Regions from separate parts of the Homo sapiens genome. Here regions 1, 2, 3, 4 and 6 are each linked to region 5. Evidence: promoter capture Hi-C in 16 types of primary human blood cells and fetal thymus (Javierre and others, 2016). All regions are on one chromosome and are shown on one strand. The core of a region is centred on a gene start or on the middle of the fragment in contact, and the rest is flanking DNA. Distances in the headings are between cores, read along the strand shown.

What was found. The method cuts DNA at HindIII sites, captures the fragments that hold promoters and counts their contacts. A CHiCAGO score of 5 or more calls a contact.
Region 1: a fragment that was not itself captured here is called in contact with the fragment with the promoter of LDLRAD3 in region 5 in 1 of 17 cell types (endothelial precursors); the score reaches 7.3 in endothelial precursors.
Region 2: a contact is called between a fragment that was not itself captured here and the fragment with the promoter of LDLRAD3 in region 5, in 1 of 17 cell types (endothelial precursors). The highest score is 5.1, in endothelial precursors.
Region 3: a contact is called between a fragment that was not itself captured here and the fragment with the promoter of LDLRAD3 in region 5, in 1 of 17 cell types (endothelial precursors). The highest score is 5.4, in endothelial precursors.
Region 4: a fragment that was not itself captured here is called in contact with the fragment with the promoter of LDLRAD3 in region 5 in 1 of 17 cell types (endothelial precursors); the score reaches 5.6 in endothelial precursors.
Region 6: a fragment that was not itself captured here is called in contact with the fragment with the promoter of LDLRAD3 in region 5 in 1 of 17 cell types (endothelial precursors); the score reaches 5.8 in endothelial precursors.

Annotation. Positions count from the first base shown.
Region 1 is chr11:35,632,178-35,635,708 of GRCh38, forward strand. No RefSeq gene overlaps it. Among named protein-coding and RNA genes, the nearest start is that of FJX1, 15 kb to the left of the region's middle. The HindIII fragment of the contact is 1,232 bases long and covers 835-2,066 here.
Region 2 is chr11:35,582,889-35,586,408 of GRCh38, forward strand. No RefSeq gene overlaps it. Among named protein-coding and RNA genes, the nearest start is that of FJX1, 34 kb to the right of the region's middle. The HindIII fragment of the contact is 514 bases long and covers 1,155-1,668 here.
Region 3 is chr11:35,485,843-35,489,509 of GRCh38, forward strand. All of the region lies in intron 3 of PAMR1 (peptidase domain containing associated with muscle regeneration 1), which reads right to left. Among named protein-coding and RNA genes, the nearest start is that of PAMR1, 38 kb to the right of the region's middle. RefSeq lists a silencer at 97-146. The HindIII fragment of the contact is 1,017 bases long and covers 1,748-2,764 here.
Region 4 is chr11:36,232,040-36,235,646 of GRCh38, forward strand. LDLRAD3 (low density lipoprotein receptor class A domain containing 3) reads left to right here. Exons shown (of 6, transcript NM_174902.4): 6 at 1-97. Among named protein-coding and RNA genes, the nearest start is that of COMMD9, 56 kb to the right of the region's middle. The HindIII fragment of the contact is 3,387 bases long and covers 1-3,173 here.
Region 5 is chr11:35,941,870-35,945,356 of GRCh38, forward strand. LDLRAD3 (low density lipoprotein receptor class A domain containing 3) reads left to right here and starts at 2,193. Exons shown (of 6, transcript NM_174902.4): 1 at 2,193-2,275. The coding sequence starts at 2,230. RefSeq lists a silencer at 2,104-2,543. The HindIII fragment of the contact is 2,245 bases long and covers 644-2,888 here.
Region 6 is chr11:35,673,936-35,677,814 of GRCh38, forward strand. The region is part of intron 1 of TRIM44 (tripartite motif containing 44); the gene reads left to right. Among named protein-coding and RNA genes, the nearest start is that of TRIM44, 13 kb to the left of the region's middle. The HindIII fragment of the contact is 3,131 bases long and covers 839-3,879 here.

The DNA of each region.
Region 1 (3,531 bases), core at 201-2,700, 310 kb before region 5:
GTGGGAAACGTTTTGTGGTCCATTTCTGCAAAGGAGATGATCATGGAAACTAACCCTCATGTCCATAGTGTTTCACAGAATGTGAGGGCAGCATAGATCTGTGAAAACAAACAAACAACAACAACCCAAAGCCTATCAGACTGCAGAAAACAATGACCTCAAAGGAAGAACTGCCTGCCTTTAGCTTGAATAATCCCAGAGTTTACTGAGTTCATGGGCATGCACTTCACATGTGGCATTCTCTGGGGAAAGACTTAAGAACTTAATCTGCCCTTTTCACCTCCAGTTTCTCCCGTTCCTGCCCAGGGTGATTAATGTGATGATGGCTTTGAAGACAGCTCCACAGAATCCCAAGGGATCTATACTCTTGGGATGACATCATAGGGTGATTTGTTTGCTCCCAGGTCCCTGTACATTTCTTTGGGTACCAGCTGAGCACTCAGGAAAGTCTTTTGTAAACCTGTCAGAAATACTGTGGGGCCTTGGTGTGCCTTTTCTTGTTTGGATTTCCTTTTCCTTCTGTCCTGCATTGTGACAAATTTCAGAATGCTGGTTTTATCCTCTTTTGTACTTCCTTTTTATTGTTGTTTATAACAACTCTGTAGACGATGGCTTTGTTTTTTCTGTACTATCTGGATGACCTCCCTTAACAGCAGGTTTCTGTGGCTTTGCTTTTGAGGAATTTGTGAAGAAATTGATTCGGGAAAGAATCAGTAGCAAATCCCTACAGGTCTATGGCAACTGCTTTTTTTTTTTTAAGCCAGGGTCTCACTCCCATCACCCAGGCTGGAGTGCAGTGACATGATCTTGGTTCGCTGCAGCCTCAGCTTTCCAAGCTTAGGTGATCCTCCTACCTCAGCCTCCTGAGTAGCTAGGAATATAGATGGGCACCACCATGTCCAGCTAATTTTTTGTATTTTATTTTAGGTAGAAACAGGGTTTTGCTATGTTGTTCAGACTTGTCTTGAACTCCCGGGCTCAAGTGATCTGCCCAAAGTGCTAGGATTACAGGCGTGAACCACCGTGCCTGGCCTGGATTCTCTCTTTAAAGAAGTTGCTTCTTGGCCAGGCACAGTGGCTCATGCCTGTAATCCCATCACTTTGGGAGGCTAAGGCAGGTGGATCACAAGGTTAGGAGTTAGAGACAGCCTGGCCAATATGGTGAAACCCCATATCTACTAAAAAATACAAAAATTAGCCAGGCGTGGTGGTGCGTGCCTATAGTCCCAGCTACTTGGGAGGCTAAGGCAAGAGAATCGCTTGAATCCGGGAGGCAGAGGTTGCAGTGAGCCAAGATCGTGTCACTGCACTCCAGCCTGGGCAACAGAGTCAGACTCTGTCTAAAAAAAAAAAAAAAAAAGTTGCTTCTTAACTATTTTGTCCAGCTGGAGAGACAGTTGGGGAGTGCCTGCAATCAGAAGTTCTGCAGCTGTCTGGGACCTGTCTATTCCAAGCTACGTACTTCAAACTTCCTTTCAAATCTTAAGTGCCTTCATTCTTGCCATTAAATTCCCATTTTGCTTACGTTTGCCAGAGTATGTTTCTGTTGCTTACGGTTGAAGACCCCTGATTAAAGAAAGCGTTCAAAAAGTAGTAGGAGGGTTGGAAATGATGTCTGGAATGATTGTCCCATGACAACAGTTATTTCACCTAATGCATTGTACAGGGGTGAAGACTGCATGGTCAGGAGAAGAGGAGTATCTGCCTCTTCCCATCTGTTTAACTGGGTAGTAGCCTTTGACCTGACTGGGACCCCTGTTTTCACCCAGCCTTGAAGCTGTGGAAAAGCAGATTCAGTGGTGCAGTGTGTTCTCTTGCACTCAGCAGTATCTTAGTGAATGTTTAACAATTGGCTTTGGGTAGGGGATGGGGACAGGGGTTGATCTGTAATGTTTGCCAATTTCCATGGTGTAAACATTCCCACTGTGGCCAGTTTCAAGCTATAAATGTGATGTCACTGAATGCAGAGTTGGGAAGAGATGCACACATCAACTCTCCTGAGCCAGTATGAGCCACTGCAGCATGCCGCTGCCTCTCTGCCTCTGACTGTGGCAGTTGCACAGGAAAGCTTGTGGTTAATAACAATGGCTAAGATTTATTTAACACTTTACTTTGTGCCACATACTATTCTGGGCACCTTACTACATGTATTATCTGTCGCATGAATTTAATCATGATCTCTTTGATAGATGCAATTCTTGTCTCCATTTTATGGATAAGAAAACTGAAGGCCGGGCGTGGTGGCTCACGCCTGTAATCCCAGCACTTTGGGAGGCCGGGGCGGGTGGATCACGAGGTCAGGAGATCAAGACCATCCTGGCTAACATGGTGAAACCCTGTCTCTACTAAAAACACAAAAAATTAGATGGGCATGCTGGCGGGCAACTGTAGTCCCAGCTACTCGGGAGGCTGAGGCAGGAGAATGGTGTGAACCCAGGAGGCGGAGCTTGCAGTGAGCCGAGATCTCGCCACTGCACTCCAGCCTGGGTGACAAAGCGAGACTCTGTCTCAAAAAAAAAAAAAAGAAAAGAAAAGAAAACTGAAGTACAAAGAAAATTAGAAATTGTTCAAAATTATAAGACTTGGAAGTTGAGGTGCCATGATTTTCATCCCTGGTCATTGTTTCCAGGGGCATCTTGCTTAACGACAACATTGTGCTGAGAGAACAAATCAGATCATGAAAGACTTCTGCCTTCTATAAGGCAAGGTGAGAAGTGGTATCAGGCTCAAACAACCTGGCAGAAATGACAGTGAAAAGGTCCACAGATACACTCAACACAGACGTTTCCTATTTGAGTCTAAACTTTATTTTCTGTACATACATTCTAATTATTTATACCCCATCTACCATCAAAAGGGTAAAAGGTAGCTTGAAATAGTAATATCTTTTTTTTTTTTTTTTTTTTGAGATGGAGTCTTGCTCTGTCGCCCGGGCTGGAGTGCAGTGGCGCAATCTCAGGTCACTGCAACCTCTGCCTCCTGGGTTCAAGCAATTCTTCGGCCTCACCCTCCCAAGTAGCTGGGACTACAGGCACATGCCACTATGCCCAGCTAATTTTTGTATTTTTAGTATAGACGGGGTTTCACTATAGTGGCCAGGCTGTTCTCAAACTGCTGACCTTGTGATCTGCCCCAGCCTCGGCCTCCCAAAGTGCTGGGATTACAGGCATGAGCCACCACACCAGCCTCAAAATAGTAATATCTAACAATTATTGAGTACCTACCATCTACTATTTACATTTTATCTCATCTTCACAACAACCTTTAGAGAGAGGAATTGTTCCTGCCCATTTTGCAGATAAGGAAACTAAAGCTCACTAAAAGTTGATCTACCTCAGCCTACATAGCTAATAAGTGACCAAAGGAAGACAGATTTTTAAAAATCCTCTTTATTTCATTGATGGGGAAACAGGCACAGAGTGGTTAAGCAACTTGCCCCATGTGACGTAGTTAATTAGTGCTGATCCAAACCCCAGTCTATCTGCTACTGAAGCCCATGATATTCACACCATATCCAGTGACTTCTCCCTT
Region 2 (3,520 bases), core at 162-2,661, 360 kb before region 5:
TAGAGAATCAGTGGTAAGTTACACAGCCATGGAAATATCTTGTTTTAGGTAAAATAGACAATAAAAGTGTGAACAAAAAAAAAGAAGAAAATATCTGATCATTATAATACCCTAAGGAAAATAAAACAAGATGATCCAATAAAGAATTACTTTTAGAGGGTGGAGGAAGAAAATCTATTACTTGTATGTCCAATCATGTTTTCAGCTACTTTCTTTTCTTGTCCCACAAACTCTATTTTGGAACATTAAGACAGGTCGACCTAACCTGACTCCAGTTTGTTTTCTCCCCTGGCATGAACATTGGCTTAGACTACATACTCCAGCCTCTGCCTTTCCCTACCAATGTTATTGCTGGCAAGCCCAATCCCTCCAATACTGTAAGCTGCTCTGTACATCCCTCTATACACAGGGGACAGGGTTGGTCCTGCAGTGATGAATAAACATTTCTTCTGTATTAGTAACTCCTCTAATTTGTCTTGGACTATCATTATTTTTTCCTTTCAGGAAATAAAACCCCAAACAAACAAGGGTCTAAGAAGCCATGTGAGAGTAAAGCCTACCAGGTCACACTCAGTTCTGGGAACACTCAGCCCTCCCCTAATTAATTGCAATAGTTGAAGCATTAGCCACACAGCTAGATGAGAAGGAAGCATGAAGTTCTAAGAGTGTTGGGCTGGAAGTCAGAAGACCTGTATTTTTGCCCCAGCTCACCATTAACTAAATGGGCAATCTCAAATAAATGTCTTCTTCTCTGGCACCTGCCATACAATAAGCACATAATCTATTTTGTTGAATGAGTGGAACAGGATCTTATACTACCACTGCCCCTATCAGCTAAAGTAGAGATTCAGAGGCTGTAACAAAGAGACCTCAAAATATAGTGGCTTAAACAGCAAAGAGGTTTATGTCTCTCTAATGCAACAGAATAGTGGTAAGGAGGAGAGGTTGGCAGCTCTGCTCTGCCAGGATATCCTGGGACCCAGGTTTCTTTTATTTTCTTCCTCTAGATCTTTTTAGGGTGGTGCTGCATGGCTGATGCTGATTCAGCAGTGCCACATCCAAGTACCAGCCAGAGAGAAGAGGAAAAGAGAGTAGATGTGAAAGACTTACACTCAAGCTCCCATTCACAAGAAGCTGATCACATGGCCACAACAAGCTTCAAGGGAGACTGGGAAATGTGGCCTCTAGCTGATTAGCCATGATGCCTGAAAGCACCTATGGAGTAGGGGAGAATTTTCTTACTAAAAGAGAAAAGGAGAGAACAGACACAGTTGGACATATAGCAGTCTCGGACATGCCTATAACAAGATTCCATACTCAAGTCTATTATTCTATTGAGTAATGAATTGTATTGTCATGTAATCATTTAATTTTATTTGGCTTCTTTTTTTTGCCCAGAATTTTGCTTTGATTCCAACTTCAAACCTACTACTGACCTAAACCTAATGTCTTTGGGTATGTATGTTTTAATGTGAGGTCCATGGCTCCCACAGGCCCCCCTAAGGGGAGTCTTAAAATTTTTTACGAGGATCTTTTTAATTGGAGGTCTTCGTTTTGATCATAGTCTTAAAATTGAGTTTTACTATCTTCTGCATAATTCTAATGACTCATGATCAAATCATACCACAGGAATCCAGTGGCCTTGTTTATTCCAGTGGCACAGATGTAAGCTTTGCAAAGACATGTTGGGTTAACACAAATTAAGGCCAAATAAGTTGATAGTATACGTATACTTTACAAAGGCAGTTTCCATAGTAGTTCAAATAAAGAGAAATTGTGGAAAAATGGGTCATCACATGGCACCCAGTAGCATAGACATGCCAAATTTAAAAGAATTAATGAGGCAGCAGTCAATATCATGTTTTCATTTGAAAGGTAATTTGGTTTCAGCAAAACAACATCATCCTTCCCATTAAATTAAGGTTGTTAAATTGGCTTTGTAGTTTTGTTTGAATTTAACTTGTATTGAATTATATAATTTAACTTGTTTTTGGTTTTATATATATATCAGAGCCATAAGGATAAATTTGAAAGTAGCATTATAATTAAACAATTTAAGTAAACACTGGGAGGAAAAGTGGAAATTGCTTTTTTCTTTCAAAAGGCTCCATTTATTACTAAAGATTAAGGGGCAGAGTTAACATGAAGATTTTCAAACAGTGATTTCCCCCTAGACTATGATTCTAGTAGACCCTAAATATTTTTACCCTGGAAATACTTGTTTTAGATCTTGTCCACACTCACCACTCAACCTCAATGCCTACTCAGTTGCTGCCCTCTTTAGAAAAAGAAGAAACATGGAATTGTGTAATATTTGCAGCATTTCATGAACCAAAGAAATTTTGCCCAAGAGGATGGGTAGGTTACTCTCTGATTGCTAGTTGATTTCTGTTGCTTGAAAGGACAGGAAAGTGAAAAGTTCCTTCCTTTTCCTCTTGTCTTACCCATGACTGCAGTTTCTAGGGTAACTGCCTGAAAAGGGCAATAAACATTCCAGCCCCCTAACGCAAAGGTGTAGAAAGTGACAAATAGAGGGGTTCTGCAGCAGTGCGTACATCAGTCTATCTGGTGCTTGGAGATCCTTTGGGATGAGAGGTACTACATAACTTTAAGTTATAGAGACGCTTAATCAACCATTCTCCCACTGACCTGTGTTCTGTCCGTGATTTACTGGCACCTCTGTTTACCTACAGGATAATGGTCCTGGTGGGGAAGAGTATGAGGAAATAAATGACTAGGTGGGTGATTAATTGTCCTCGCACAACACAGGGTCTGGTACCAAGATCATTATTTCTATTGTATGACAAGAAAGAAAGAAGGAACAGTGAAGCAGTGTGCATAAATAATGGGAGAAAGATTTCTTCATTGCTCAGGAAAGCTTTGCTGTCCCATTCTTTTCAGACTTTCTGAAGTGGCCTGTCCCGTAGTGTGAATTCTCATCTCTCTCTTGAACCTTCAAAACTGGTCTTCACCAATCCATTTGACATGGGGCTAACAGATATTTGGGGGATAGTTTCCATCCTATTCACTACCAAATGCAAAGGGAGTATGGAACTGTTACTTTGCCCTTTCTGGAGCTTAACAATGCAAGCCACCTCCTGGGAGACAGCTCTGGGTTCCAAAAATAAGAGGCAGGAGAGAAGAATATATATTTGGTTTGAATGAAAACTATGAGTAAGGGCAGAGCAATATGGAGAAGAGTTCAGGACCCAAAGGCATCAGCTTTCAGCATTTTATTTTAATTAACTAAATCAAGCATTTAGCTCAGTTGTTCTCAATCCCAGTACATATTAGAAACACTTCACTTGGGAGCCTCCAAAAAAATACCAATGCCCAGGTCTCACCTCAGACCAATTAAATCAGAAAGAGGCCAATACCTTAAAATAACTGACCAAATGGAAATGAAATTCCTGGTCCTTGAAAGTAACTCTTTAGGAGACTTGGAGCATTGATTTCATCAGAGAATCCCTCGCCTGTCTATAGAGAGCAGCGGAGAAGAGCAAAGCACAAGCTGCTGTGG
Region 3 (3,667 bases), core at 1,006-3,505, 460 kb before region 5:
GCCTTCAGGATAACGTTGTCTGAAAGGATCGCTTGGGCGCCATCTAGTGGGAAAATGCTTGCACTGCCATGGGGCTCCGGCGCTGTGTCCCAGCCATATGTAGGCGACCCTTAACGTAGGCAGGCAGCATAGTGCTCAGCACCAGGCAGGCATTCAACAAAGAGTGAAATGAATTACTTCTTCCTATGAATTCCCTACACATTTATTTAGTGCCAGTATGAGGTGAGGGTGATAAGAACCTAATAACATCATATTGATGTCTTCTTATGGTCAAGCACTGTTTTCACAGATGGATTGTAAACTCATTGCGGAATCATTGTGTTCCCTGGTGACCAGCCCAGTGCTCCATAAGAAATGCTCCATCAGTGCTCATGGCAGTGGTAACATACACTGTGTGGAATGAGGCTCTCAGAACAAGCATAACGTAATTGAACAAGCAAAACTGAACCAACACAGATCGGATAGAATCTGACCATTAGTTTGTTTTTTCAATTTCATAGCATTGACCACATTCTATTTTTTTAACTTTAAAAAAAATCTCCTCTCTAAAGCGCAAGCTCTAAGATGTCAGAGACCATGCCCGTCTGGCTTATCATTGTACATCCAGCACCTAGAAGCATCCATTCAAGAAATATCTTTTGACTGGATGGGTAGATTAATGCACGAAGGTGTGAGCTCTCTGTTCTGCCTGCCTAGGTGATAGACTGGTTGCTCTGAGCCAGTTCTGCTGTCCTTGAGAAAGCCTGGACCCTCAAATGGACACAATCACCAGCCCAATCAATGAGGCTCCATAAACAGCGTCTTACACCAAGGTGCAACCCAAGATTTGACCAGTAGGTGCTATTTAAAAAGACACATGCTCAGGATTTCTGAATATTAATATTTTCTGTTTCATAACATTTGGGTGACTGCTATCCTTGTTTTGTTACCATTTGCTGTATTGACTTCTTGCATGCAAATATTCTTTCCTTCCTGTCCCCTGCACCCTGAACAAACCCCCTTACTCACATGGAGCGACTGAAGTATTGTTTAGAAATATTTATCCACCCCTCTTCCTTTGGGATGGCATATACTTCCCTACTTCACTCATTGGGAACTTAGCCATGTGACTTCTTTTGGCCAGTGGAATATGGGTGAGTGTGATGTGCGCAGAGGCCTTATGTGCACCTGTGTGTTTGGCTTGACCTCTTGTGCTTCTGCGACCCACCCTGAGAAGAGCATCCCCTGATGGTTGCTGTCCCTTCTGCCTAAGCCCTGCAGCCTGGAGCACAACCAGCCCAGGTCAGCCCAGTTGAAATCAGTGGAATGCCTGCCAACTCACAGACCCATGAGAAAGAACAAACATTTGTCCTTTGAGATTGTTAGTTACCCAGAAAAAAAAAAAAAAAACTGAACACTTTATCACCACCATCCCTGAAAGCTTCAACTTAGAAACTCTACTCTCTGACCATAATACCCATTCCACCTATGTGTTCCATTACTTCATTACCACCAAGCCTGCTTTTCCACTTAAGACCTCCTGTCCCTATTGCCCCTCTACCAGGCTCTTTCTGATTTCATGTCCTTCCCAGCTGGGATCCTTGGTCAGTCATGTCTCAGCTTATTCTTGGATCAACAAAACAACTGGTTTTACTCCCTTCTGCTGCTGCACTTCCAGAGAGCATCAGCCAACGTCCTAACTGACTGCATCACCTCCCTAGGAACTCTGGCTTCGACTGGGTCCTCCGTCTCGCTTGGATATGCTTTAAGCTTAACACCAGCTGGTGCCTTTTCTTGTTCCTCAAGTGGCTGCCCCAAACCTTTGGTACTTTCAAGCCCCAACCTCACTTCTACTCATTCTCAGCAGATATTTCACTCCCTACTTCCCAGAGAAAACGGGAGAACTCACCAGCAGGAGGCAGACTAGGACTGTGGTTAAGAACAAGAGTAAGGGGTCTGGAATCGTCCTGGGCTTTACCCCAAAGTGTACGGCCTCAGGCAAGTTACTTCACAGCTCTGAGCCTCAGTTTCATTATCTATAAAATGGGAGTATGTATTTTCATAGGGTGATTGTACAGATGAAACAAGACATGGCACATAAAGTGCTCAGCACAGTTCCTACCATATAATTACTAACAAACAAGATATGCTACCTATAAATAATTCTTTTCCTCCTGTCTCAGCCTAGGACAGAAAAGGAAGCTCCCTCTCCTTTAACTCTCACTTTTGTTCTTGATCTCATAGGAAGTTCTTCTCCTTCAGGATAACATGGTCTTAACTTCTTCAGTTAGTCTTACTCTAATATGTAATATTTTTAATCTCTCCTACTGACACTTTACTCACATTAGCTTAAAACCTGTTTAACCCTTTCCCATCTTTTTTTTTTTTTTTTTTTTTTTTGAGAGAGAGACAGAGATGAGGTCTTGCTCTGTTGTTTAGGCTGGAATGCAGTGGTGTAATCATAGCTCACTGCAGCTTCAAAATCCTTGGCTGCAGAAGCGATTCTCCCTCCTCAGTCTCTTGAGTAGCCAGAACTACAGGCATGCACCACCATGCCTGGCTGAATTTTTTTAATATTGTGTAGAAACAGAATCTTGTTTTGTTGATCAGTCTGGCCTTGAACTCTTGTCCTCAAGTAACCTGACTGCCTCATCCTCCCAAAGTGCTGGGGTTACAGGTATGAGCCACTGCACCCGGCCTTTCCCATCTTAATTGGTATTTTTCCACAGCTGTTTATTTACTCATATAAACTATCACCTTAATTCTCCCCTTCCTTGCTTGATTAAGCTTATTTAAAAGAAAGTTGTCTGTATTCTTTTTGTCCATTTTTCACACTTCAAATCTTGCCTTTTTTTTTTTTTTTTTTTTTTTGGAAACTGTCTCACTCTGCCCAGGCTAGAGTGGCAGTGGCATAGCTAATTTTGTATTGTTTGTAGAGACAGGGTTTCACCATGTTGCTCAGGCTGGTCTCGAACTTCTGGGCTCAAGTAATCCACTGCCTTGGCCTCCCAAAGTGCTGGGCTTTCAGGCATGAGCCACTGCGCCCTGCCAAATTTTATATGAAACTGCTATTGCTCAGGTCACCAATCGCATGCTAGCCATCAAACACAAAAACCTCTTTACTGCCTTCATCCTATGTGACCTTTCTGCCTTTGAAACACTGCCCCCAGCTTCCAGAACCCTACTCCTTCCTGGTTCTCCTCCTATCTCTCTATCTTTTCCCATCTCCTTCCTGGTTTTCTCTTCCTTTCCTTTTACATCTGTTGCTATTTCCTCTGCCCATGGTGCTCTGTTCACCTCATGCTTCCATCTATAACAGCCATAGGCATATCTCAAGTCTCCAAAATTCTCTTGAGCTCCAGGCACTTATTTCCTACTGTCTGCAGAGTCTCTTATAGATGTCCAAATTCCAGCTTATCTCATGTGGAACTCACCTTCTTTCCCCCACCAAACCTCTTCCCTTTTATTACTCACTTAACAGCATCAACTTCTAGACAGTTAATCAAACTAAGAATTTGAAAGGCAAACTCTTGAGATTCCTTACCCCATTCTTCAGTGAGTCTTGAGTCCTGTCACTCCTTCCTTTAAGCTCTTCTCACTCTAGTCTCCCTTCTTCATCCCCTGAAGCGCTGCAATCGCACTCCTAATGGCTACCTTTGGATATGGTCTTCCTCCACTCCAGCGGAGT
Region 4 (3,607 bases), core at 230-2,729, 290 kb after region 5:
CTGGAAAGGTTGTGTGTCGTTGCTTTTTGTGTTTTGGTTAGGCTTGGTTTTGTTTTTTAATTTTTATACTTTCTAATAAATTTGCAGTTTCATTCTTTCTGTTTGTGCAAATGGTCCTTGACCCACTCATTTCCCTTATAGCAATATAAACAGTGGACAGTCACTTCTGTCATAGCTTTTGCAATGAATTTATGCCATAATAAAATGAGAAAAAGGAAGAATATGTTGGTGGGACCTCAAAATGTGATGGATGCTTCAGGATTCTGCAGCTGATATGATTGGAATACAGAGGCAAAGTTGTGGACACCAGTTAATGTAATGGGCCCTGGGAAATCATATTGGAAGATGGGTGTTTCTGCCTTTGCTACAGCATTGTTCAAGGGAAAAGGACAAGTAGCTGTGATAACTGTAACAGATTCTGACCACATATTCAGGAGCACACTATAGCTCTTGGATAGGTGGGCTAGTAATTAGTTTCAAAACACAAATGGCTCAGATTGTCCCCATCAATGATGGGAACATCTTTATGCTTTTTTAAGTCTAGTTTTGGAGCCACATGTTGGCCAATGCAGCAGGGACATCTGCCTGGGAAGGAAGTTAGGATGCCCCATAGGTCACCAGCACCACCATCATGAACAGGGACAGTAACTCCAGCCCTGGCCGAAATGAAATCCACATGGAAATCCAAATGCAAGACCCACAGTACCAAGATTTGGATCATGTATTGATCCCAGATTCCTCAAATGAAGACTGGGCTGTCAGGCATGTGTATCCCAAATATATGCTATGTCATGCCCTGCCCCAAGTGATGTAGAGTAGACTTTCCCAAGCCCCAAAGATTTGTCAAGTTACTCATTTCATCATCCCTCGAGGTACCTTATGAATACCTTTTTTTTTCTTTTTTTTGAGATGAAGTCTCGCTCTGTCGCCCAGGCTGGAGTGCAGTGGCGTGATCTCAGCTCACTGCAAGCTCCGCCTCCCGGGTTCACGCCATTCTTCTGCCTCAGCTTCCCGAGTAGCTGGGACTACAGGCACCCACCACCATGCCCGGCTAATTTTTTTTTTTTTTTTTTTTTTTTGCATTTTTAGTAGAGGCAGGATTTCACCGTGTTAGCCAGATGGTCTTGACCTCCTGACCTCGTGATCCGCCCACCTCGGCCTCCCAAAGTGCTGGGATTACAGGCGTGAGCTGCCACGCCCAGCCATGAATACCATTTTTATGGATGCCAAGATGAGCATTTTTTATGGATGCTAGTGCTTTGCAATGATTGTAAAATACTCAGCTAGAGCAGGGGTTGATAAACTTTCTCTAAAGGGCCAGAGAATAAATATTTTTGGCTTGTGGCCGTGTGGTTTCTGTAGCAACTGCAAAAGCAGCTATAGACAATACAAAATTGAATGGATGTGGCTGTGTTCCAAGAAAACTATTTACAAAAACAGGCTACTGGTGGGATTTGACCTGTGGGCTGTGGTTTGTCAGTAATCTAAAGGATCACTTCCACATTGGGTTCATAGATGTAAAGCTAAGGACACTGAAGAGAAGAAACAGTTGTGTTAATGGCTTGGAGTACTAGAACCCTTGAAATGACACCAATCTCAAAAAATTAAAAATAGGCCGGGTGTGGTGGCTCACGCCTGTAATCCCAGCACTTTGGGAGGCCAAGGTGGGCGGATCATGAGGCCAGGAGATTGAGACCTTCCTGGCTAACATGGTGAAACCCCATCTCTACTAAAAATACAAAAAAAAAGAAAAATTAGCCGGGCGTGGTGGTGGGCACCTGTAGTCCCAGCTACTTGGGAGGCTGAGGCAGGAGAATGGCATGAACCTGGGAGGCAGAGCTTGCAGTGAGCCAAGATCGAGCCACTGCACTCTAGCCTGGGTGACAGAGCGAGACTCCGTCTCAAAAAAGAAAAAAAATTAAAAATAGAAAAACTCATGAAGCAGACAATTCAAGGCCCCTATTAGTTCTCTTCCAAAATAAGAAGATACAGGATTAAGCTGAAGAGAGGCTTTCTTAATGAAATCCTAAATATTTGGGTTCAATATAGCAATCCTAGGAAAAAAAAAAAACAAAAAACTACTCTTACTGGGAGTTCTTCAAGGTCATGAACTCACACAGCAATCTGTCTTTTTTTTTTTTTTTTTGAGACAGAGTCTCACTCTGTTGCCCAGGCTGGAGTGCAGTGGCACAATCTCGGCTCACTGCAACCTCTGCCTCCCAGGTTCAAGTGATTCTCCTGCCTCAGCCTCCCAAGTAGCTGAGATAATAGGCGTGTACCACCACACCTAGCTAATTTTTTGTATTTTTAGTAGAGACGGGATTACACCGTGTTAGCCAGGACGGTCTCGATCTCCTGACCTCATGATCCACCCGCCTCAGCCTCCCAAAGTGCTGGGATTACAGGAATCTGTCTTTTAGAGAAGGTCCATGGGAGTGAGTGACGTGGTATGTCCATTTTCTACGTTGAGCTTGCAACCCACAGGCAAAGCAGTAGATTCTAAGAGTGAATTGAATGAGAAAGAGATTCAGGTGGCTGCAGTGGAAGTGTATGAGTGTACATAACTATGCACCCAGTGAGACCCTTAGGGAAAAGGTCAGTGAGAAAATATACTGACTCCCTTGACATCCTACAGCTAAACAAGTTCATAGGACATTAATTAGAACTCCTAGTTGTAAGTTATAGAAATCTGACTCATACATGATTAATTGCATTAAATTTTAGAAGATATATTGTCTAAAGCAACCAAGTCCAAGATTATGGAACTTTTGGGTTCAAGCAGACCTGGATCCAGCTGCTCAACAGCCTTCATTAGGAATTTGTTCCTCCCTTGCCAGTTTCTCAGCCCTGCTTGCTCATGGAAAAGAGAGTCCAGAAAACCCAGGTTCACAGTCTCAGGAGAGGCACTCTCTCCTAGCATCTATAGAAACCTTTAAACGGACTCACGATTGGTTGTTCTTGGTCATGTGACCACTACTATGAGTGGGTCTCAGTCCCTTGATTGACAGCCCCACCTGAATTACATGAAGTGGGAAAGAGAAAATTCCCATATGGAAAGAGTCTGGTAGTAGACCAAATACCAATATATCTGCTGTAAACCCCCACCAAAGAATGGGACTCACAACTGGCTGGTACAATTTGTAATATACATAAGAAAATAGCAGACAACTACAAGCTTCAGACAATGTAACCATGGGCATTATATGGTCTGAAAGAAACAGAGGCAACGTTGCAGTGAAAATTTCAGGAGACTCAACAGCCTTTCCTTAAACCTATGAGGCAAGGTTAGTTTCAAGTTGGGGTTGGATCATGTATACTTTTGTGAGACGGTCATGAATAAGCTGTGTAGGAGGAATTCTACCCTAAAGATACCCCAAATATCTCTTGGGCTCAGAACTGTCTCCCAACCACTGAAATGGGGCAATTATCCTGCCAAGAGTTTCCCCATCCTTCACAGTATTTTTAAGCTGATGGATCAGAAATATATTCCCATTCATCACCCTTATCAAGCTACCTAAAGACCTAGACTCAAGTATGCATGCAGTTAATGAGGCTTTCCATAGTTAACCATTTGTCTATACCTGAAAGTTAGGATGTGTCAATATCT
Region 5 (3,487 bases), core at 943-3,442:
AACAACAGTCGGGCCGGGCACGGTGGCTCACACCTGTAATCCCAGCACTTTGGGAGGCCGAGATGGGCGGATCACGAGGTCAGGAGATCGAGACCAGCCTGGCCAACATGGTGAAACCCCCGTTTCTACTAAAAATACAAAAATTAGCTGGGCATGGTGGCGGGTGCTTGTAGTCCCAGCTACTTGGGAGGCTGAGGCAGGAGAATCCCTGGAACTCGGGAGGCGGAGGTTGCAGTGAGCCAAAATGTGCCACTGCACCCAGCCTGGGCAACAGAGTGAGACTCTGTTTCATAAATAAATAAATAGATAAATAAATAAATAAATACAACAGTTGACCTTAAATAAGGTTTTACATTAGTCCAAATGATTTCAAAGACATTAATATATTTATATTTAAAAGTGTGTGTGCCTGTGTGTATGTGAGAGAGAGAGAACGAGAGAGAGAGTCAGAGTCAAACTTGCAAAGTAAGGAAGTTGATGTGTCCAAAGAAACCTAAGGAAATAAGAACTATAGCAGTGGGTCAGTTGCATTATCTTTCCGTATCCCTAATGTTTGGAGGCAAATGAGCAGCTGTAGGAGAAATTATTTGCTTATTTGCCTCCTCAGATATTATTATCAAAGGCAGGAGGCCTCTTCCCAACAAGCTTCCCGGAACAATGCACATACCCACATGCACAGGACATTTTGCATAAAATTTTAAGGGCTTTAAAATTCTTTGAAGCCCATGGGACGATCTCCATAATATTCATCAATCCCAGGATAAAAGCCCCGAATGCCAAATCATTTAGATAATTGATTTATATTTTCCATGTGTACTATGAACTATGGAACTTAACCTTTCCTCCCTCACATCACATTTTCTCATTACCTTGAACAATCATTGGTATTTTTAAATTTTGACCTGATCCTTTTTAGCCTTTATGTTTCCAGACTACAGCACGCAATTACAGAGTAAAGTAATTGAATCTTAACACCCTTGAGGGTGTCTCCAGGGCATCCCAAAATCTGACGCAGGCATCCCTTTTATAACTGCCCCTGTACCCATACCTTCCCCTTTCTTTCAGCCAGGTGGAGTTTGTGTAAATAAACTCAACCCTTTTGAGGGGTGGATTTTAGGGATGCAGTTCTATTGTTTTGACAAATGTATACAGTTGTGTAACTACCTCTATAATCAAGATTAGAACAGTCCCACTGCCCCCAAAAGTTTTAATTTATTGATCCATTTATCAATTGATGGACACTTGAGTTGTTTCCAGTTTTTGGCAATTATTTGCGTTAGTCTTTTGCTTTTTTTGGGTGGGGGATCAGAGAGAGTGGAGCACAGAAGTGTCATCCCCTTCTTCCACCATCTAAGTCTTTTGGGGCTTTTCACCAGTGCCCTCTGGAAGCAAGTGCATTGGTGCAGCTATATTTTTTGCATTTGGGTATCTGCCTTTCATGACCTTTTCCTTTTTTTAATTTTATTTTTTCCAAATTGGGTCCCAAACGTTCAACAGGTCAAGGTGGACACTATGCAGACAAAATAACTCATGTGGTCCACGCTGTGTGCATGGTAGGTGTCAGCTGCTCTTACCGGTGGCTCCCGGATCATCAGCCTTGGAATCAGCCACCATGTTGTTAAAAATGCAGAATCTCAGGCTCCACGCCAGATCTACTGAACCAGAGTCAGTATTTTAACAAGATCGTCAAGTGTGCCGGATGCATATTAAAGTTTGAGAAGCACTGGTATTCCACACTCGCTACTAAAAATATACTACAATTTTCTCATAAGATTTGACCCTTTATTTTAACTTTTTCTCTCTCGGTAGTAAACTCACTTTGTAGTTTGAGTAAAGAACTCAAGTTTTGGTCTGGGCGCTGCATCTCGCTGGGTGTGGAAGCAAAGGCAGAAATGAGAGGGACAAAAGGAAGCAGAGAACAGAGCCCAGGCTGTTAGAAGATCCTCGCGGCCAGACCTGGGAGGCTGAAAGGCTGAGAGACCGAAAGGCTGAACCCTCCGCCGCGCTCGGCGGCCCCTCGGAGTCAGGACACCCAGGGTAACATGCGGGTGGCCACGCGCAGCCCAGGCGCTTGCAAAACTTAGCGGAGCCGGGCCGGGGCCGGGCCCGGGGAAGGCGGGAGGGAGGAGGGCCAGGCGGGAGGGCGGGGACGGCGCGGCGAGGGGCGGGGTCAGCGCCGAGGCCGCGGGGGCAGCAACGACGCCGGGCAGCGGGAGCGGCGGCCGCGCCATGTGGCTGCTGGGGCCGCTGTGCCTGCTGCTGAGCAGCGCCGCGGGTGAGTCGGGGGGCGGCCGGCGAACTTCCCGCGGGGCGCGGGGCGCGGGGCGCGGGGCGCAGCGGCCGGGTGCGATCGCGTCCTCTCCCGGGCGCGGGCCGCTCTCCGGGCGTGGGTGAGCGCGGAGGGCGGACCCCGGCGCCGGGCTGGCCCGGACCCTGCCGAGGGGCCGCCGCGGGGTGCGAGCCGTCCTATTGTGTGGGCGTGCGCGCCGGGTCGTGTTGTGCTGTGTGCGCGGGCGGGGCTCTGTGTGCAGTCCGGGTCTGGGGAGCCCGGCGGCTGCCCCGATTGGGCGTAGCTCGAGTGTGGCTGTGTGTGTGTTGTGTGTGTTGAGGAACGGAGGCGGGGAAAGGAAAGGAGAGGAGAGGAGAGAACTCTTCCCTGGTCTCATCTTCCCAGACGCCTGGTCGCGCGCGGCTGCGTTAGCCTCCTCTGGGCCTCTTCCCGAGTCTCTGGCGTGCACTCCGTGCCTCAGTTTCCCCACCTGCACCGCGGAGGGAGTAGCAAAGCTGCTTCCTTTCATTCCTCTCTGGGACTGTTTGGTTTGGGTAAAGTGAGTTGAAGCAAGGCCGGATCTGGGAATTCATTTTTCCCCACTGATCCTGGGAACCGAAGCTTTATTTAAGACGTCTGACCACCCTACTTGCCCCGCGATGGGCGCCCTGACCGGCGAGGGGCCCTGGGAGAGGACACGGGGCTTCATCCGGCGGCCCTTTGAACCTGGCATCACCACCGCGTGTGCATCCCGGGGCCTGGACCGCAGCAAGCCTCTTTCCCTTCCAGACAGCGTGCTGTTCCCAGGAACTTTTCTGCTGATGTGGGCATGATCCGAATTCCAGCCTGGGAGCCCTTCCTCCTCTGCCCCTGCCCGCCGCCCACAGCTGTCAGCTGTCCCTCCTGGACTGGGCCCGCCCTTGGCCCCTTGACGTTTATTTCTGGGCATCTGATGCCTAGAATGTGGGTGACAGGGCCCAGTGAACTTTCTTCAGCAGAATCTTGCCTGCCTGGTGTTTGTGCCATCCACATGTCCAATAGCTGCCCTATTTTGCCAAGTGCTTCTAGCAGCTTGGCTGTCGAGGTGTCTTTGGTGGCCTGTGGGTTTGCTAAGTTGAGGCTCACTTCATTCTTAGCTGTGCCTTGGAGTTATGAATGCGTTAAAGGGATATCTCCTCTCTTCCTTGATGTCCCTGGTCCTGGGCATCCTCACAGCCC
Region 6 (3,879 bases), core at 1,154-3,653, 270 kb before region 5:
ATCAGTGCCTCGTATGTGTTCTGCTTGAAGTTATGGTTCAGTCTGAGAGGACCAGCCGAGTTTCCTGTTCTTATTATTGTTTTAATATTCAGAACCAGGGGCTAAACTTGTTAGGTGGCAGTAAGGAACACAGATGCTCATGGACCTTTCAGAATAGGAGACGTATTATAGACAATGGATGAAACAGAAGCTTTAGTCTTGATACGGGGAGTAGAGATGAGAATGGGGTAAGAAATGCAGAAGGCTGGCTCTGGGAGAGTTGAATCTTGTGTGTGTGAGTGGGAGAGAGAGAGAATTTGCGTGTGTGTGTGTGTGTGTACACATGCGCACATGTGTTTGCGTGTATGTATATATCGCTATGATAGGATCAAGTCAACATTGCATCAGGTGCAAAAAAAATCAATATTGATGCCCTTTTTAAATGTCAGAAAACTGATCAAGAATGAAAAAACCAAAACCAACCAATCAAACAAAATTTCCCAAATATACCAAAGGCTCAATCCACAATTTACGGCAAATAACTCTATGGGCAGTGACTTTGATGTATACTATAATGTGCTAGATTATTTTTGTTGAACATTTATATATTAAACCCACTTCAGATGGGTTTAGTTAGTTTTTGGTAAGGTAATAATTGGTTTTTAACATCAATAAGAAGATTAGCAAATACATTCATTATAGTATGTCCAAACTATAACATATAGCTGGCTTTCATTTTAGAGAATGATATTTTATTTTCTTAAACTAATTTTATTCATCTGAATAATTTTGGAGCACTTATTATGGTGAACTGTGTGGTGGATACGAAGAAGAATAAGCAAAGTTTCTAACTTCAGGAAGCTTACAGCCTAATAGGAAAGAGAATCTTTTCACATGCTTATTTGTGTGTATTAGAGAAAAGGTACAAACAGTATGCTATGGAAGTGGAGAGAAAAGAGAAATTGATATCACTGGAGGGCATGGAGCCAGGAATAGATTCTTAGAGGAAGGAGTCTTTGAGGTAGGCCTTGAAAGATGGGTAGGGTGTTACTAGGTAGATACAGGCTTTGAGGTATCCTTTTGTTCCCATTATAACAGCCTGTGAACATTTATTGTAGCACTAAATACTGTGTACTATGTCATGTTATTTCTTTCCATGTCTTTCCCTGGTGGGTTATAAATTCTTTAAGGCTAGAACTATATGTTATTCATCTTTGTATTCCCAGCACCTAGCACAGTGCCTGCTGGATGGTAGATGAACATGAAGTATGTGATAGGAAGTGTAATAATCTTGTCTAGTTCCAGGGCATTAATGAAGAACTGAGAGAGTATTGCATAGTTGTTGTAGATCAGTGTTTACATTGGGATTAATTTGACTGCATCTAAAATAATGAAATAATTTGGAAAAATCCAAAATAACCACTCCCACATGATGTTTATTTCTCTGTCACATAAAATAACTTTGGGTGTAGGCAGTCTAAGGTTGGCGTGGCAGAACCATGAAGTTACCAGAAATCTAGGCTCTTTTCAGCTCCATTCTGACATCCTTACTGTGTCATGGGCCAAGATGACTGCTGGAGGTCCAAGTTCCAGAATGACAGACATAGAAAAGTGAAGAAGGGCACACCCCTCTATTTTTGTTTGTTTGTTCATTTGAGACGGAGTGGCACGATGTCGGCTCACTGCAACCTCCGCCTCCCGGGTTCAAGTGATTCTCCTGCCTCAGCCTCCCAAGTGGCTGGAATTACAGGCGCCTGCCACCCTGCCAAGCTAATTTTTGTATTTTTAGTAGAGACGGGGTTTCACTATTTTGGCCAGGATGGTCTCGATCTCCTGACTTCGTGATCTACCCACCTCGGCCTCCCAAAGTGCTGGGATTACAGGCATGAGCCACTGCACCTGGCTGGGCACACTGCTCTATTTTAAAGGGAACTCTCGAGAAGTTATATACATTGCTGCTTATGTTTCATTGGCCAGAACTCAATACCCTGGCCTTATCTAGTTGCAAGGGAGACTGGGAAACAGTCATTTCTCCAGGCCACAGCGTGTGCAGCTAAAAGCTGAGGTTCTTTTACTAAGGAAAAATGGGAGAAGAATATTGAAGGACCAAACAGTCTTTGACCCAGTTGGCTTTGCAGTCTGTTTTTGAGTCTTAGCTCTTCCACCTACTAGCTGTATAATGTTGAGTAATTCACTCAGCCTCTGAGTCTTGGTTTCTTCTTCTGTAACATGAGCTAAGTAATTGTTTCTCCTTATTGAGTTATGATGAGGAACAAACAAGATCATAGATGTAAAGAGTTTAGCACAGTGCCTGGAATATCATAAGCCCTCAGCAATGGGTTGCTCTTATTCTTATTACTGTTATAAAGCCATCTAAGGTTCTATTCTGAGTTCCTTTCCAGACAAGTTAGTCTGGCAGCAGTAGAAGCTCTGGACACCAAGTTTCTTGGGTGCAAACTGTTCATCCCCCTCTCCTTCTGTTCCTTCTGCCTGCTCTAATCTGGTGGGTAGATAGGCTGGAGAAAAACTTGTCTTTGGAGAAGAGGCTTCTGTATATTTCAGTGTCCTGCTGGTGCCTTATGCACTAGCTAACCAAAACACAGCTGGTAGGTCTAATTTTAGGTTCACAAGTCTTGCTGGTTGTCCTCTTTAGATTCTGTTTTACATTCTGAACTGTGGGAAGTTTTTATAGAAGCAGAGGGGAGGTGGGGACAAGATACTCTTTACTTTCTGGTTGGAAAATAGCCTTCATTTTCTTTCTAGTAGGCAGTCATGGGGAGAGATGTAAGGTTAAGTTTATATAGGCACCCATACTATTTTCCTCTGTGAATTTTGAGTGTGTGTGAACCCTGGCAGGCTCTAACCTGTGTTGATTGGTAGACTCTGACTTCATGTGTATAAATAATGAAAATGCTAATCTTTGGCCGAGGTTATAAAACCAAGAGTCTAGAAACCTTTGTCTGTTGTTGAATTTTGAGACTGTTTTTGTCTGTTTTTGAATTTTGAGACTGTTGTTTTGAGACTGTTGTTGAATTTTGTCTGTTGCTGAATTTTGTTTGAATTTCCAGAGATATGAGAAAAATAACAAATAGCTGTCATTTATTGAGTGGTTTGTGGCCAGGTCCTTTTCATATATTGTTTCATTTGATCCTTAATAAAATTCCACAATTAGCTATGTTGTTATGTTTTCCATTTTATGTATGAGGAAACTCAAAAGAGGTTAAGTTTTGCTGACAGTTACTTAGCTAGCAAGCGTAAGGACTGGGATTTGAATCCAGGCCTGACAAAGTACATATTCTTTCCACCATTCCATTTTGCCTCTACAAATTTGATTACTCCCTCTCATATTTAATCTAAGTTGTACTGACACATTATCCTTATGTTTATTTTCTATATGAAGGCATTTAATAGATGAATACTTTCTGAATATCCTAAAACTATTTTCCCCTTCTCTTTGGTCTTCTTTCTATATATTATATATAATTTTAATTAGTAAAATATTTTTTTTATTTTGTTCTATTCAGCACTTCTCTAGGTCAATACCTGATACTTAGTAGTCACTCAATGTATTGTTATTTAATTAATAATAACAACAGAAATTATAACTAACATTTATTGAGAACTTAGCTTGTACTGCTTCTCTAAACTTTCTGCATATTCTTTCATTTAATGTTTACCACAATTCTTTGAGGTATAGTATTTCTTAAGATAATTTTATATATTATTCGAAGTTAGTGGCATTTCTTTTCTTTTGGTCTATTTATTCATTCAACAAATATTTATTGAAGGCTTAAAATTTGCCAGGTGGAGTATTTTGGCCAGTAGGGAACCAACAAGAAGCAACTCTAAGTCATGGAATTTATAATCTTTGAGCAAAACAGACAGTAAGGAAGTTAAATG